Linked DNA regions of Homo sapiens: region 2 is linked to region 1. Evidence: promoter capture Hi-C in 16 types of primary human blood cells and fetal thymus (Javierre and others, 2016). All regions are on one chromosome and are shown on one strand. Each heading gives the region's core, a stretch centred on a gene start or on the middle of the fragment in contact. The rest is flanking DNA. Distances are from core to core; before and after follow the strand shown. Region 1 holds the start of TMEM215 (transmembrane protein 215). Region 2 overlaps LOC107987060 (a long non-coding RNA gene).

The links. Contacts are between HindIII fragments. The CHiCAGO score rates a contact against its expected background, and 5 or more counts as called.
Region 2: a fragment that was not itself captured here is called in contact with the fragment with the promoter of TMEM215 in region 1 in 1 of 17 cell types (M2 macrophages); the score reaches 5.3 in M2 macrophages.

Annotation. Positions count from the first base shown.
Region 1 is chr9:32,779,469-32,786,302 of GRCh38, reverse strand. It overlaps TMEM215 (transmembrane protein 215), which reads right to left and starts at 2,763. Exons shown (of 2, transcript NM_212558.3): 1 at 2,498-2,763; 2 at 1-2,177. The coding sequence starts at 2,119. The coding sequence ends at 1,412. It overlaps LOC105376017 (a long non-coding RNA gene), which reads left to right and starts at 3,397. Exons shown (of 7, transcript XR_929559.2): 1 at 3,397-3,660. The HindIII fragment of the contact is 4,873 bases long and covers 949-5,821 here.
Region 2 is chr9:32,839,902-32,846,622 of GRCh38, reverse strand. LOC107987060 (a long non-coding RNA gene) reads left to right here. Exons shown (of 2, transcript XR_007061452.1): 1 at 1-5,142; 2 at 5,757-6,025. Among named protein-coding and RNA genes, the nearest start is that of TMEM215, 60 kb to the right of the region's middle. The HindIII fragment of the contact is 999 bases long and covers 1,878-2,876 here.

The DNA of each region.
Region 1 (6,834 bases), core at 1,514-4,013:
CCTCAATTCCCCTTTTGGGAGAAAGTGACTAAGACTATATGATCACTTAAAATGATCATTCTTTGAAGGATACAAAATACTTCTGATCTTCAAGATGAACTCTATCACCATTCCTATATATAATTCATATTTTTCTTCACCGGGGATCAAATGGCATTCTGCTTGATAGCCTTCTTATCTATTGCAGTTGAGCAAGTGAAATAGAAAGCACATTTTAGGATATCATTGTGATTTGTTGTTTTCCTCAGCAGCAAAAATGTATGAAATAAAGAGACTTTTATCATGTAATGTTCACTGATCAGGTGAGCTTAATAAAATCTAGGCTTCAGTTAAATTTAGTAGATGAGTTCTTGTTTCACTGGCATTTACAGTCTGTGAGAGGAGTTGAACAAATGTACAAATAATGACACTTCCAAAGGTTTAACCATTGCATTTCATACAAATTATGTGCAATGTTCAAGGCTAATGTGTAGACTTTATAGTTTTCAGATTTTAAAAGGTATGTAGGAATGGTAATTATCAGTACATGTCTGCCAATGTTAAAGACTTGGATATATATGTAAAATTCATTTTGTCTTGATGAAAACAAATTCCAATCTATGAAAGTATCATTTCAAATAATGTTGCACCTGGTAAGGAAATAATACATGAATGATAGTAAATGTTTAGAAAAAACCCATTTCAGATAAAGATGCAATAAATGGATTTAAACGAAGAGTTTAAGAAGTAACATAGCCATCTAAAAATGTTAACTTTTCACATAGCTGCTCACACTTATTTTACTTTATTAGAGACCATGATCTTGTCAGACAATAATGCCACAAGACTCAGTTACATAATCCAACTCTCTTTAACTACCCTTTTCCCAAAAACCATCCCATCTAAGGAGGGTTTAACTCTTGTATCTTGATTTTTTTTTCTTTCAGCAAATACCAAGTGTGATAAGCTTTTAACCAGGCAAAAATTACTTTATATAACGGATCATTAATTTTATTTTCAACTTATTCAAACATAAAGCAGCTCAGTTTCCCTGTGGTCAGCTCATGCATCATTTGATGCCTCACATCTGCAGCCCACTCTAGATTTATCTTGCTCTCAGCTGGTTCTGGATAGCACTTTTTGGGTTATTTTACAAAACATTTAACATTGTGTAAATTGTTAAGAAGCAACTGGAGTAGCTTCCTTTCCTACCCACTGCCTCTTCCAGTGTCCTTAACCCTCATCGCCCTTCCCTAAAATGTGTCCCCAACATGCCTATTTACATGACTCTCGGGTACCAGAGGTTATCACACCCATCACATACCAGGTCAATTTCTAACAGTGTGAAGGCTCTCCAAGCAGAGCAATTTGCTTCCACGGGGAGCTGGGCTTAGTCATATTCTATCAATCCAGCCACCTTTGTAGGCAGAGATTAGACGATGGTCTCGTGGTCCCACCTGCCTTGTATCTGATTGATATAACAACAGTATCTGTCATACGGGCTGTTCTGCTTGTAGGAGCAAACGATGATACTGTCCTGGGGCACAAAGAAGATGCTATCCTCAGGCTCAGGGCACTCAGATCTGTCCCTTGCTGAGCACTTGACGTCCAAGGCACTGTAGGTGAGGGAACTGCCCGAGGGGCAGTAGCCGTCCAGGTATCTGGACGTCTCCTCCTGATGCCCATTCTGGACGAGGCTCTGGCATTCTCCTTCCTCCGTGGGTGTGGGGCTGTTGATGGAGCTGGCCACGGACACCTCACCCTGGCTTTGTGGGGGAGGCTTCCCCCTGAGGCCCGCCTTCTTAGCCAGCTCATCTGAGCTCCCCTTGCCGGATTCTAGGTCTGAAGGGGTCCTCAGCAGCTCTACCACCTCCTTGTCTTTGGGTTTCCGGAAGCAGGGCAATTTGCGGACCCACAGCAGCTCGTTCTCTGGCCACTTGGTGCATCCCTCGGTTTTCCTGGCCAGGGCAATGGCTGCGATGCCTGGTAGGCAGATGGCTGGCCCGATGGCCAGGAGGGGGATGTTTCCCAAAGTCTCCCCTTTCATCCCAGAGACGGTGAACATGAAACCAAAGACGAGGAAGACACTGACCAGGGCCACCACCAGCCCAGTCCTCGGGTTAATGTCATCAGGCCGCATGTTTCACTCCATCCAGGTTGGGGGCTGCTTGCTGACCAGGGAGCAGCGTTCCTCTATTCTGTCAGAGATGAAACCACAGTGCGTTAAAAAAAAATCCAAGTCAAGCTCCCACCCATCAACTCTTGTCTTTCTCTTGCCCTTTGTCTCCGACTTGCTTCTTGACTTTCAGTCTTGATCTCTGTCTCTGTATCTCTCTTGCAATCTCTCTATCTCTCTCTCTGCGTTTCTCTTGCAATCTCTCCCTGTTTCTATTTCTACTCTTTCTCTCCGTCCCCTCTCCCTCCCTCCCTTTCTTGTGCCCTCCCTCTCTTCCTCTCACTATTGCAACCTCCGTCTCTCTCTCATATCAACACGCTCCGGCTGGGGTCAACGAGGTACCTGAGGTTTCCTGCCCTCTCCAGGAAGTAGGGAAAGAAGCCAGGCTGTCTCCTCAGAAGCCCCCACAGCAGCTGCCCCCTCGGCTCGCTCCCTTGGTTCTGGGAGGAAAGCCTGGTTTCCCCCACGGACTCTGCATCGGGGAGGTGGAACCTGGGAGAGCGGCTCTCCCAGCAGTGCCCGTCGGTCCCGGTGCTGTGCAAGCGGAGCCCGGCGCCAGCTCAGCGCGCAGAGCGCGGGGCGCGGGAGGAGGAGGGAGCACTGAGTCTGGGAAAGAGGGGACGCGGCGCGAGCCTGGCCTTGTTACATCACTGTCAGAGCAGGCTCAGAAACGCAGACAGACGCGCGGGGGCGCGAGGGGGTCAGCCCCAGAGGGAGGCCACCCGGCGGCAGGCGCTGCCCGGGGTCTCGTCGGGGCTGCTGGGAGCGGCCGGGGTTTGTGCCGCCGCCGTTCCGGAGGCTGAGCAGGGCGACCTGACCCGCTTCCGTGCCCGGGAAGGGTCTGGGGCGCGAGGCTGCCAGTGGCCGGAGTCGGAAACCAGGGTCGGTTTGCCCACGGGGCAGCCGTTGCAATATCCGAGCTCGGGCTCCCAGTCCGGGATCCGAGGAGTTAGGTGCCAGCTGGAGATGTCCCTCCGGGACCCGCACCCTTCTCCAGTTACAAATCCGGGTGACTGACGGCAGGCCCAGGGGCTCCCCGACCGCCCTTCTCTCAACCCCTCGACTCGGGGCGCGGGGGGGTGTGTGTCCCTCGGGGAGCCGGTGCCCGAGGACTGCTTTGGTCCCGGCTCTGGGCGGTGGCGGCGCGCGAAAGCGCTCTTGCAGCGGAGCGACTGCGCCGCGGGAGCGCACAGAACCAGCGCCCAGGCGGAGTGGGTTAGTGGTGAGGGGTGGGTGCCAGGCTAGTCCGGGCCTTGGGGGAGTCCCCGGAGTCCCCGTGGCTTTCCAGCTCCAGGCTCGGGAGAGGGTGACCTTGGAGCCGGGATTTCACTTCTACAGCGCTGTGGTGCCGGGGGGACAGGGAGAAGGGCTCCCTGGCCCCCAGTTCACGAGGAGAAGGGGCCTTGACCGGTCAGGACCACCACCCTACGACGCCGCTCAGCTCTGGGCGATTCTCTCCTCCCTTGCTGAAGCAGGCATTGAGAGCCTGCGTTCCTCCCGCTCTGGTAGGCAGGGGCAGATGGATTCCTCTGGCCCCGGGGGGCAAGACTGGCTTTGGCTGTGATTCTTCAACAGGGCTGCCCATTTAGGATAGAGGAGGGCGGTGGAGAACAGGTTGATGAGCGGTACATGCTTTCATGTCAAGACACTGATTTACTGGAAAGAATTTTCACATCCAGGCCTTCCCCAGTTAAACTAGCTGTATATTCCTGGGCAAGTGACTTAACCTCTCTGAGAATCAGTCGTCCTATCTGTAAAATGAGATTAATACCAAATATATGAGGAAACATTGTGAGGATTAAATAAACGTAAAGTTCCTAGCACAATGCTTGGTACATAGTCTGTGTACAAAAATTACACACACATGCACACACGTACACATGTATATGTATATATATTTGTCATCATAATTAGTGTCTTCATCATGTATGACAGGAGCCAAACAAATCATAAAGGCTGTGAGACTAAGGACTTTTTATCCACTAGGCAATGAAGAACGCTTGATGTATTTTAAGCAAAGATCAATACAAAAACATTCCAGTTTGACTGAAAGGGGCGGCAGGTGAGAGCATAGGTTGGAGCTGGTAAGTCTGGAAGCCGGGAGTCTTGTTCAGTAAGCTGAGAAGTTCAGTAAGCCGGGCAAGACATGATGTGGCCTTAACAATGTCGGGCTGGTAGAGGAGTTGGAAGGAAGCAGATCTGAGGGTATTTAAGGGTTGAGTGAAGTGTCTTGGAGCACAGTGAAGTGAGATGAAGGGAGGAGCCAAGGTCAACTCCCAACTTTCTCACTTTCAAAGGGGTGGATCAGGAAGCAGATCCTTCTCATTTTCCTCTCCATCATCTATTTTGTATCTTTTGTACTCATGACCATTAGACAGCTGCTGCACCTTTAGGCATAGAATCATTTAGGAGGGAAGAAAGGAGAAAATGCAAAGGGTAAAAGTGAGGTGCCAGTTCTTTGGCCACTTGTATGAGGACAATAATAATTTTCCTGGCAGCCCCCCCAAGTAGATAGGCATCTGCCTGTAATTGACCAGAGATGGATGAGCTTTGGGATACAAAGGTACCTGGGAAATTGTTGTTTATTTATTTACCAGATCCACTGATGGTCTGAAAAAAGGGTTTTGTTTAAAAGGAGCAGCATACTGCTCCTTTTAAATACTGGGGAAGCAGCTCGCTACGTGTGTTACAATTATTGAAAAGTTTTCCCTTCTTAAAACCGTTTCTTTTACTGACACCATTCTATCCTAGTTTTCTTCCTATCTCCCTGGTCACTTATTTGTAGGCTACTTTATAAACTCCTATTTTATTTATTTTTTATTTTAACAAACCCCTTAGATACTGATGTTCTGTGGGTTCTATTCTTGCTTCTCCCCTTTCTTGATTTCTCTTCTCTTTCTTCTCATTCTGTAATAGCCTCGAACAGCCTGAATAGGCTGATGACTCCCAAAACTCTCTCTTTAGCTTTGTCATTTTCCCTCAGCCCCAAATCTATAATATCCAACTGTCTGCTTGATATCTCTAATCTGGATGGTATGCAGACACCTCACACTTGCTAGGGACTTTAGACTTCAGGGATTTAGACTTTAGTGATTTTGATCTATGGGGATTTCAACATTAGGGATTGTGGGGTTTGGGATTGTGTCCTTTGGGATTATGTTCCAAACCCAACCTCATCATTCCTTCCATTTGCCAACTGAGAATATTTGCAATTGTTCTCTACTCCTTTCTCTCCCTAACAGCCTACGTCCAGTAAGTCACCCAAGTCATTATAGTTTTACCTCCTAAGTCCTTTGATTATCCCCTCTTATGGTGGTGACCCTAGGAAAATAACTTTACCTTCCTGTGTTTCAACTTCTTAATGAAACAAAGACTTTGAATGAGGTGCTAGGTAAGATTCATTTTAGCTCTAATGTTCCTTGGTTCTCTTGTAGTTACTTCTGCAGGGCTGAGCTGATGTCAGTGTTGTGGACGTGTTTTGACAATAGTGCTGGAAATAAAGTTGGGTCCTAAAGAAGCAAGATTGCTGAGTGGAGACCTCCTGTCACTTGTACAAACATCCAGTTCTTTTCTGATTTTTAAGCCATGCAGTTTATCTACTTAGGCATTAGATAAGACCCGGGCATAAAACCACAGGAAACTTCAATTGCTGTTTAATTATAAGCTTCATTTTCAAAGCAATTCCTTCTTAGAGGTAATTTCAGATGGTCTTTGAACAGCAGGTATACTTGCCCAAGTCAGCAGCAACAGTGGGTAGGGATTGGAGACATCACTCAGGGTCACAATACTCAGAGACAGATAAGGTGTTCTTAGTATTTAATTTCTTGCCTGTATAGTCTGGATTTTAAAACCTTAAGCAGTTCTTGCAATCCTGTAAGCATATACAGCCATGTACAAAGGCTTTTTCTTAGAAGAGCAAGGAATTCAGGCTGAAATGAGACTTTGGCATGTGGGTGTTTCAGAAGGAAACAGAACCTTTTATTTCTGAAATTATAGAAATCATGGCATGCTAGCCTTTGAAGATACCCTGTAGTACATCTACTCCAACTTCTTTATTGTACAGATGAAGTCTAGAAAGGCTTCATTCATCCAATATTACTTGAGTATTTATTGTGTGCTTAGCATTGTGCTGGGTGCCGGGGGTACAAATCAAATATGACATGGTCTGCCTTTATAGAACTCACACCCTCAGAGCAAGTTGTGTGTATGTCAGGACTGGACAGATTATGTGGTGACAACAAAAGACCTCTAGTTCTACAAAAGCTACATGCTCATAATATTATACATGTCTGTAATGAGCCAGCTGCTGCCTCTCTCCATGTCATCTTCACTCTGATGTTCAGATTGACAGAGCAGCTTCCATTTAGGACACGGCCGATCTTGTAGCAGAGGGACAAAAGAGCAGGACAAACCACATGCTGGCTGGTAAAGTGTATTCCCTAGACTTTGCCATCACCCCCATCTCTCAGGTTCCTCCTCCTTTTGCTTCACTTCTTCCTTCCAGCTCAGCTATCCAACCCTAAAGGGATAATAGAGACCAGGCCTGGTGGCTCACGCCCATAATTCCAGCACCTTGGGAGGCCGAGGTGGGCAAATCACCTGAGGTCAGGAGTTCAAGACCAGCCTGGCCAACATGGTGAAACCCCATCTCTACAAAAAATACAAAAATTAGCAGGTGT
Region 2 (6,721 bases), core at 1,128-3,627, 61 kb before region 1:
TGTGTTTAAATTTCATCTCTTCCATCTTGCTCACCTATAAAATGGACATCATAATGTCTACATCATAGGAGAGTTGTGAGCATTCATTGTTAGTCTGTGTAGTATTTAGATAGCGCCTGGAGTAGAACAAGTGTTAGTGATGATGTTGATAATGACTGTGATGATGGTGGTAATGATGATGGAGAGAGGGAAGTGTGTACTGACTAGATAGGATTGAAGGCAAAAAAGCCTCCCAGCTTTCACTACCCCAGCCCTACCCCAAGCAGTTCAGCTTTGGCCCCAACCCTACAGAGTCTACTCAGGAAAACAAAAGCCAAGTAGTTAATCTGACCTGTCTTCCTAGGAAGGCAGTTTGGTGACTATGTTATTAGAGAGTATATCCTTTAGAGGTGTCATTGCTTTCCCAAGTGGGCTATCCAAGTATTCCATTCAGTCATATATGGTAAGCCCCTCTAGAGGAGTTTTTGGTAAATACATTTTTCTCTATTGATATGGTTTGGCTGTGTCCCCACACAAATCTCATCTTGAATTGTAGCTCCCATAACTGCCACATATTATGGGAGGGACTCAGCAGAATATAATTGAATCATGGGGGAGGTTTCCCCCATACTGTTCCTGTGGTAGTGAAGAAGTCTCATGAAATCTGATGGTTTTATAAGGGGAAACCCCTTTCATTTGGCTCTCATTTCTCTCTTTGCCTGCTGCCTTCCATGTAAGACATGACTTGCTTCTTCTTGCCTTCTGTCATAATTGTGAGGCCTCCCCAGCCATGTGGAACTGTGAGTCTATTAATCCTCTTTCCTTTATAAATTACCCAGTCTCAGGTATGTCTTTATTATCAGCCTGAGAACAGACTAATGCATCTATTTTATTGCATTTACATGGATATTTTACCAACTGGTGATGCCTGATGACCCAGAGAGCTGCCCTGGATGAATAGCCCCCACAGTGCAACTCAATTCTGACAATGCCATAGTTTCTTTCAATGGCTCTTCTCTGTTTGACTTCCTCTAAATGCCTTTTTACTTCTAAATATTGATGTTTACTAGAATGTCATTGTTGGCTCTTTTGTCTGCTTATCTAATTTGGTGGTGCTCTAGACAGTCCATGTTGAAGTTTCAAGTGGCCCATGTATCCCTGAAATTACATGCAAGACTGGGTATATATGTGCATTTTTCCAGGAGAGGACCCGTGTTTTCATCCATATTCTCAAAGGCAGCTCAAAAATGAAGAACCAAGCTAATCCAAGTTATTCATTTTCATAAGCCTTTGGGGTCTTTGCCAGTCCTATTCTGTAGACTGGATGAGTTAATCTCTTCCTTTTGGTGAGATGAATAACTTTCTAAATCTATATGAAATAAAAGATATCCCCCCTTTGGGTAGAAACATGTCAATACTTCCTGTGTAACCCTTTAAACCTTCTCCTGGCCATGGCAAGCCTGACTTTTATATTCAAGTAGTATACGTATGTGATTAACTGTACACATTTCTGTTTATCTAGCAGGATTATATAATTCTTGTGTGGCATAACTAAATTTTGTTCATTTTTACATCCCTCAGTGCCTAGTCCAGTGCTTGGGACATGGTAGGTGCTCTGTAAACACTGATTGGAGGCCTGACTGCATTTTATATTCCTCAATTAATGATGAAGCAATATAGCCAGATCATGCTGCATTTATAAGTATTTAGCAGACAATATTACCAGGGTAGATTATGAATACGTATAGCAAAAACGCTATTGAGACAGAAATTCCTAAGGGAAATATATAAAATCACCCTATTTCTTTCACAGAAAAAAAAATACAAAATCAGGTTTTTCCACCATTATTAGGCTCCAATAAATATTCATCCTTTATCCCTCCAGGGGATCCCAAGCTTCCTGCAAGGGAAATGAGTGCTAAATGTGCCCAGTAAATCACTCTGTTTGTTTTCACCCTGTAGACAGAATGGCGATCTTAGTTGATTTTTTTCTTCCGACAGCCTAACGATTCAAATAACTTAAGATTTTTAATCCCCAAGACTAGAGGAGGACATGGTAAAATTGTTCATCCACCGCTTCCTGTTTAGAAAAAAACTGCCCATGAGGAAGGTAATAGCCACCTCTTGGGAGCAAAAAGCCCCACAACCTCCCAAAAGGGCAAAGCCCAGCTCTCTGAACTAACAATGCTGCCACCGCTCCCAACAAGGAAATTGCAAATCACTGCAGGGTGGAAGCTGGGCCTGCTTAACGCACCCTGAGGTCCTGGTTCCCATAATAAGTATTTTAAGTTAGGGGAGGCGTCAATCTCAATGACCAAAGTGCTAGATGAGTAAAGGTTGATCCTAATGAGGTTGCAGGCAGAGCTTCCATTCCTCCAATTGACTCTCCTCTCTCTCCACTCCTAGCAGCACCCCTGACCCCATCTCAACAGTGGCCCCGGGGAAGACTGGGTTAGGGAATACACTTGACTTGGTACAAATCCACTGTGGCCCAGCAAACAGTATGCAAACCATACCCTACTTACTGTGTATGGAGGACAGAACAATCGAGAGTGCCAATGTAAAAAATGATGCTGCAGGCATGACAGTGGGCCCCCGTGTGTCCTTTTCCTTAAGGGTAATTAACTGTTCGGATTCATACCTAAAAATAGGCACGCTACTGAAACAAGTTGTTGATGACCTAAGACAAGGCCAACCTGCCTGGCTCAGAGATACCTGAGTGTGTCCATCTTTTCAGGTAAATTAACATGACTGGCATTGGGATTTCAGCTTAAAAGGCAGAGAGTTGGAGCAGTCTACAGTGTTATACAATTTGTGCGTGACTGGCAGCAGGTGGAGAGTAAATAATATCTGCAAAAGAAGAAACTGCAGGCATTTGAATCAAGTGGCAGCAAGCTTACCACTTAGGCATGTTGTTAATAAAATACGTTGGTGTGATTTGGTTAAGTCCCTCCACCCCACCACCTTATTTTTTTTTTAACTTAAATCAATTTCTTAGAGCTAAAAGGCATGCAGCTTAGCAAAAACAGCAGGAAATTGCTTTAGAATGCTTATACTTCATTTCAGGGAATTTTTTTTTTAATCTGAAGTAAATAAGCCATATAGTTCTTCCCTGCCATAACAAAACATACAATGACCCCATCTGTGATGAGGCAGAACCAGGGTTGCCTTGCCTGGGGGAAAGTTTAGAAATTTCTGAGAAAAACCCATAAATTGAAGTTGTAAGCTGTGAGGTGGAAGCCTTGCAAATGATTTGCAGTTTACAGCAGTTACTCAAAGCAGTCAGATTCTAACTGGGGGTCAAGAGAGCGTCCATGTTTTACAGATGGATAAACTGAGGCATAGAGCTTAAAGACCGGCTCTTTAGAGTTTAAAGCCATGCCATGTCACTGATAGAGACTCCTTCCTGGGAGGAAAAAGACAAAAGACCTCTCTCCAGCAGAGGCTAGTATAACCTCAGAGAAATCTATCTGAAGATATGAAAGCATCACTAACAACCAAAAAATAAAAGATCTAGAAGGCTGTGGTGGGAGGATCACTTGAAACTAGGAGTTTAATACCAGCCAGAGAAACAGAGAGAACCTGTCTCTACAAAAAATACAAAACATTAGATGGCCAAGGGTGGCAAGTGCCTGTAGTCCTATCTACTCAAGAGGCTGAGGTGGGAAGATCACTTGAGCCCAGGAGTTCAAGGTCACGGTGAGCTACAGTTGAGCCACTGCACTGTAGCCGGGATGACAGAGAGAGATACTGTCTCAAAAAAACAAAACAAACAAAAACAAACAAACAAAACTAGAATGTAGGTAGGAATCAGGATAACTGGGAAGCAAATTAACCTCGACCTGGGACTTCTTTAAATGAGTTTGCACAGCTGTCTCAATCCATGTAAATCTCTTGTTATATAAACCCACTCACTTGATCAACAGAAACAGAGGGAGTCCAGATGTTAGCGGATAGAGCTCTCATGCACCCAGCTTCCCTAGCTTGGAATACGCCAGCACTGTCTAAAATGAAGCTAAGCAAAACCCAAACAAAACCAACACCCAAACACCAAAAGCAAACCCAAACAAAATCCCAACCAAACAAGTTACAAACAACTAAGGATATTTTCTAAACCCATTGACTGACTCATGACTTTCTGGTCTCCCTGGCTCAGATTTCTGAGAGCTTTAAAAAATTGTGCCAAACAAGGAAGTACCATTGCTTAATTAGGTCTTGCCAATTATTTTGCCTGATTTTACTTTTTTTCTACCTCCCTGCTCCATTCCAGTGACATAGTAGGCTTCCCTCGACTTTCTACATCAGCACACTGTATCAGGTAGTGGACTTCCTGGACAAGCTCTATACCACCTTTGGGAAAAATTATAGACCATTATGATGTCTACAACATGGAGACGATGGGAAATGCTTGTGACTATTGATGTATGGGTGGGTATTTTAGACATGGAATAATATTAATTTTTAGTGGAGACAAAGCTTGGAATTAATGGAAAGTAACCATTTATGTAAACATTCGAACTTTCTTAAGTTGTAAGCTCCTAGAAAGCAAATCTTCTTAGTAGTCTCAATTGTGCCTATGGCTTTTCTCATTGTTGTCCCCGAGGAAATGTCTACTGCTTTGATTTGAGAGCCATCCTTTTCAATAATAAGGGAAACAAACTGGTTTTATATTTTTACTTTTGTGGTCAGACTTTCCGGCACTTAGCTCAATGATCTCCAACCTTTTACTGACATAGGTATTTTCCTTTCCTCATGGCCAGTGAGGAAAGGCGGTGAATTTTGAAAGACACACAGAACAAATATTTAGATAAAATTATAATATCAATAATCATTACCGACTGTAATTTCATTTTTAATTGTATAAATTGAGAAGGGAACAATGAAATGTTTTGTTAGCCATCAGGCAAACTGAAAATAGATTTAGAAAGTATTTAAGATTCATTTTTTCAATGCACAGTAATTGAGAAACCTGTATGTGCCAGGCACTGTGTTAGCACTGGAGCTCTAAAGGGCAGAAGGCTGAATGTGATAGATGGATCTCTACCTTCAGGGTGCAGTCTAGTAACACATAGAAGGACTGAGACCAATAGCCATGTTGAAGAGGAGACGATGGTTCTCCCATCACCTTCATTACTCCACCTGCTGCTCATGAAGGTTGCTGCGGTGAGTCACTGCAACCCACACAGTTCCTTTTCTTTCCATTCATTACTGAAAAATACTGCATTATGAGGTTAATGTTGATGAAACTATTGTGTTCCTACAATTCCTTGTGTTTCTTTTCATTACCATAAAACACTGCATCATGAAATTAAAGTTGCTATCATACATGACAATGTAATTAAACCACATTTACTTTGAATTTTACTATTATCTCTGGGCTTTTCTTCCCCTTGCCTCTAATTCAGAACCATTGAATGGGTGTTTAGACCCAAACCTGCTCCAGCAAAGATAATAACTTTTAATATATCTAACAATTAATGGGTAAATACAGGGCACTAACTACATAGTAAGCAGGGATTTTGATTTTCAATAACCCTCAGATTTAAAGGATTTCCCTTTATTCTCCAAAGGTAAGCTCATTATACAGAAATGTAGGTGAGGGTCATAACACTATCTCTGATGGCCACCGCTGAAGGAAAAAAAAAAAAAAAAGAAAATTGAAATAATCTTTTGGCTAAATTTGAAGTAAATTTTGCTTGGAGTTGATGAAAAATATATTAAGTACTTAGGCATTTAGGACTTGATTGTAACTAACTTTCTGCTTTGTTATACTTTAGGGATGTGCTGATTAACTTGTGTTTTGGTCGAAATCTGAAGTGATGCTGAATCTTCGTCCTTTAATGTTGTCTGTTTTATTGTTGAACAATTTTATCATGCATCGTGTGAACTTTTATGCTTATGGTGTGTATCATCACAGCACTGGACAATAATGACTCACACAGTAGAATAACATAACTGTATACTTGCATCAAGGGTAGTTAAAACATGGTAAGGTTTTCTCATGTCTTTATTAATAATGATTAAAAAATTAATTATTCACCTCTGAGTTTGGCCAGTGGAATTATCTGGAATGGTGGTTTTGGGGCTAAGTTCTATGATATCTCATTGCATGAAAACTAACAATAAAACCGTCATGTATCAAATACTTAGTCATATGTCAGGCATTGTGCTAAGGGCTTGACATAGATTATTTGATTATGGTATATATCTTCACAACATTTCTATAACCCAGATATTATTATAATCCCCATTTCCCAGATGGGAATGCCAAGACTCAGTTACTTGTCCAAGGTCACGTAGCTTATAAATGCAGAGTCAGGTCTTAGACCTGTCTGATTTAAGAGCACATGCTACTGATCACTTACTACTTTGCTTCTTGTGGTCAGTAGGGAATTTAGAGATTTACTCCAACTGAAGAGGAACCTTAGGCCCAGGAAAGTTAAAAGACTTAGCTAGGTTCCCTTTGTTAGTTGGCAAATTTGAACCGCCCATGACTTAGATCTCCTTAGCTCATGTCCTTTTTGCTCAAGGTGAAATAGGCAATTTGGGCTATAGGAACATCTGCAATTTCTATTTATCAATATGGAAAACCCTAGAGTTGTCCTGTCCTCTTCCTGGCTTTTTCATCTTGTATCCAGACGGCCAGTCAGCAAATCCTGTTGATTCTTTTACCACGGTGTCTTCCATGTGGTAGCGCTTATGTGAGATAATGGTTATGAGTCTGATTCCAGCTGGGTTCAAA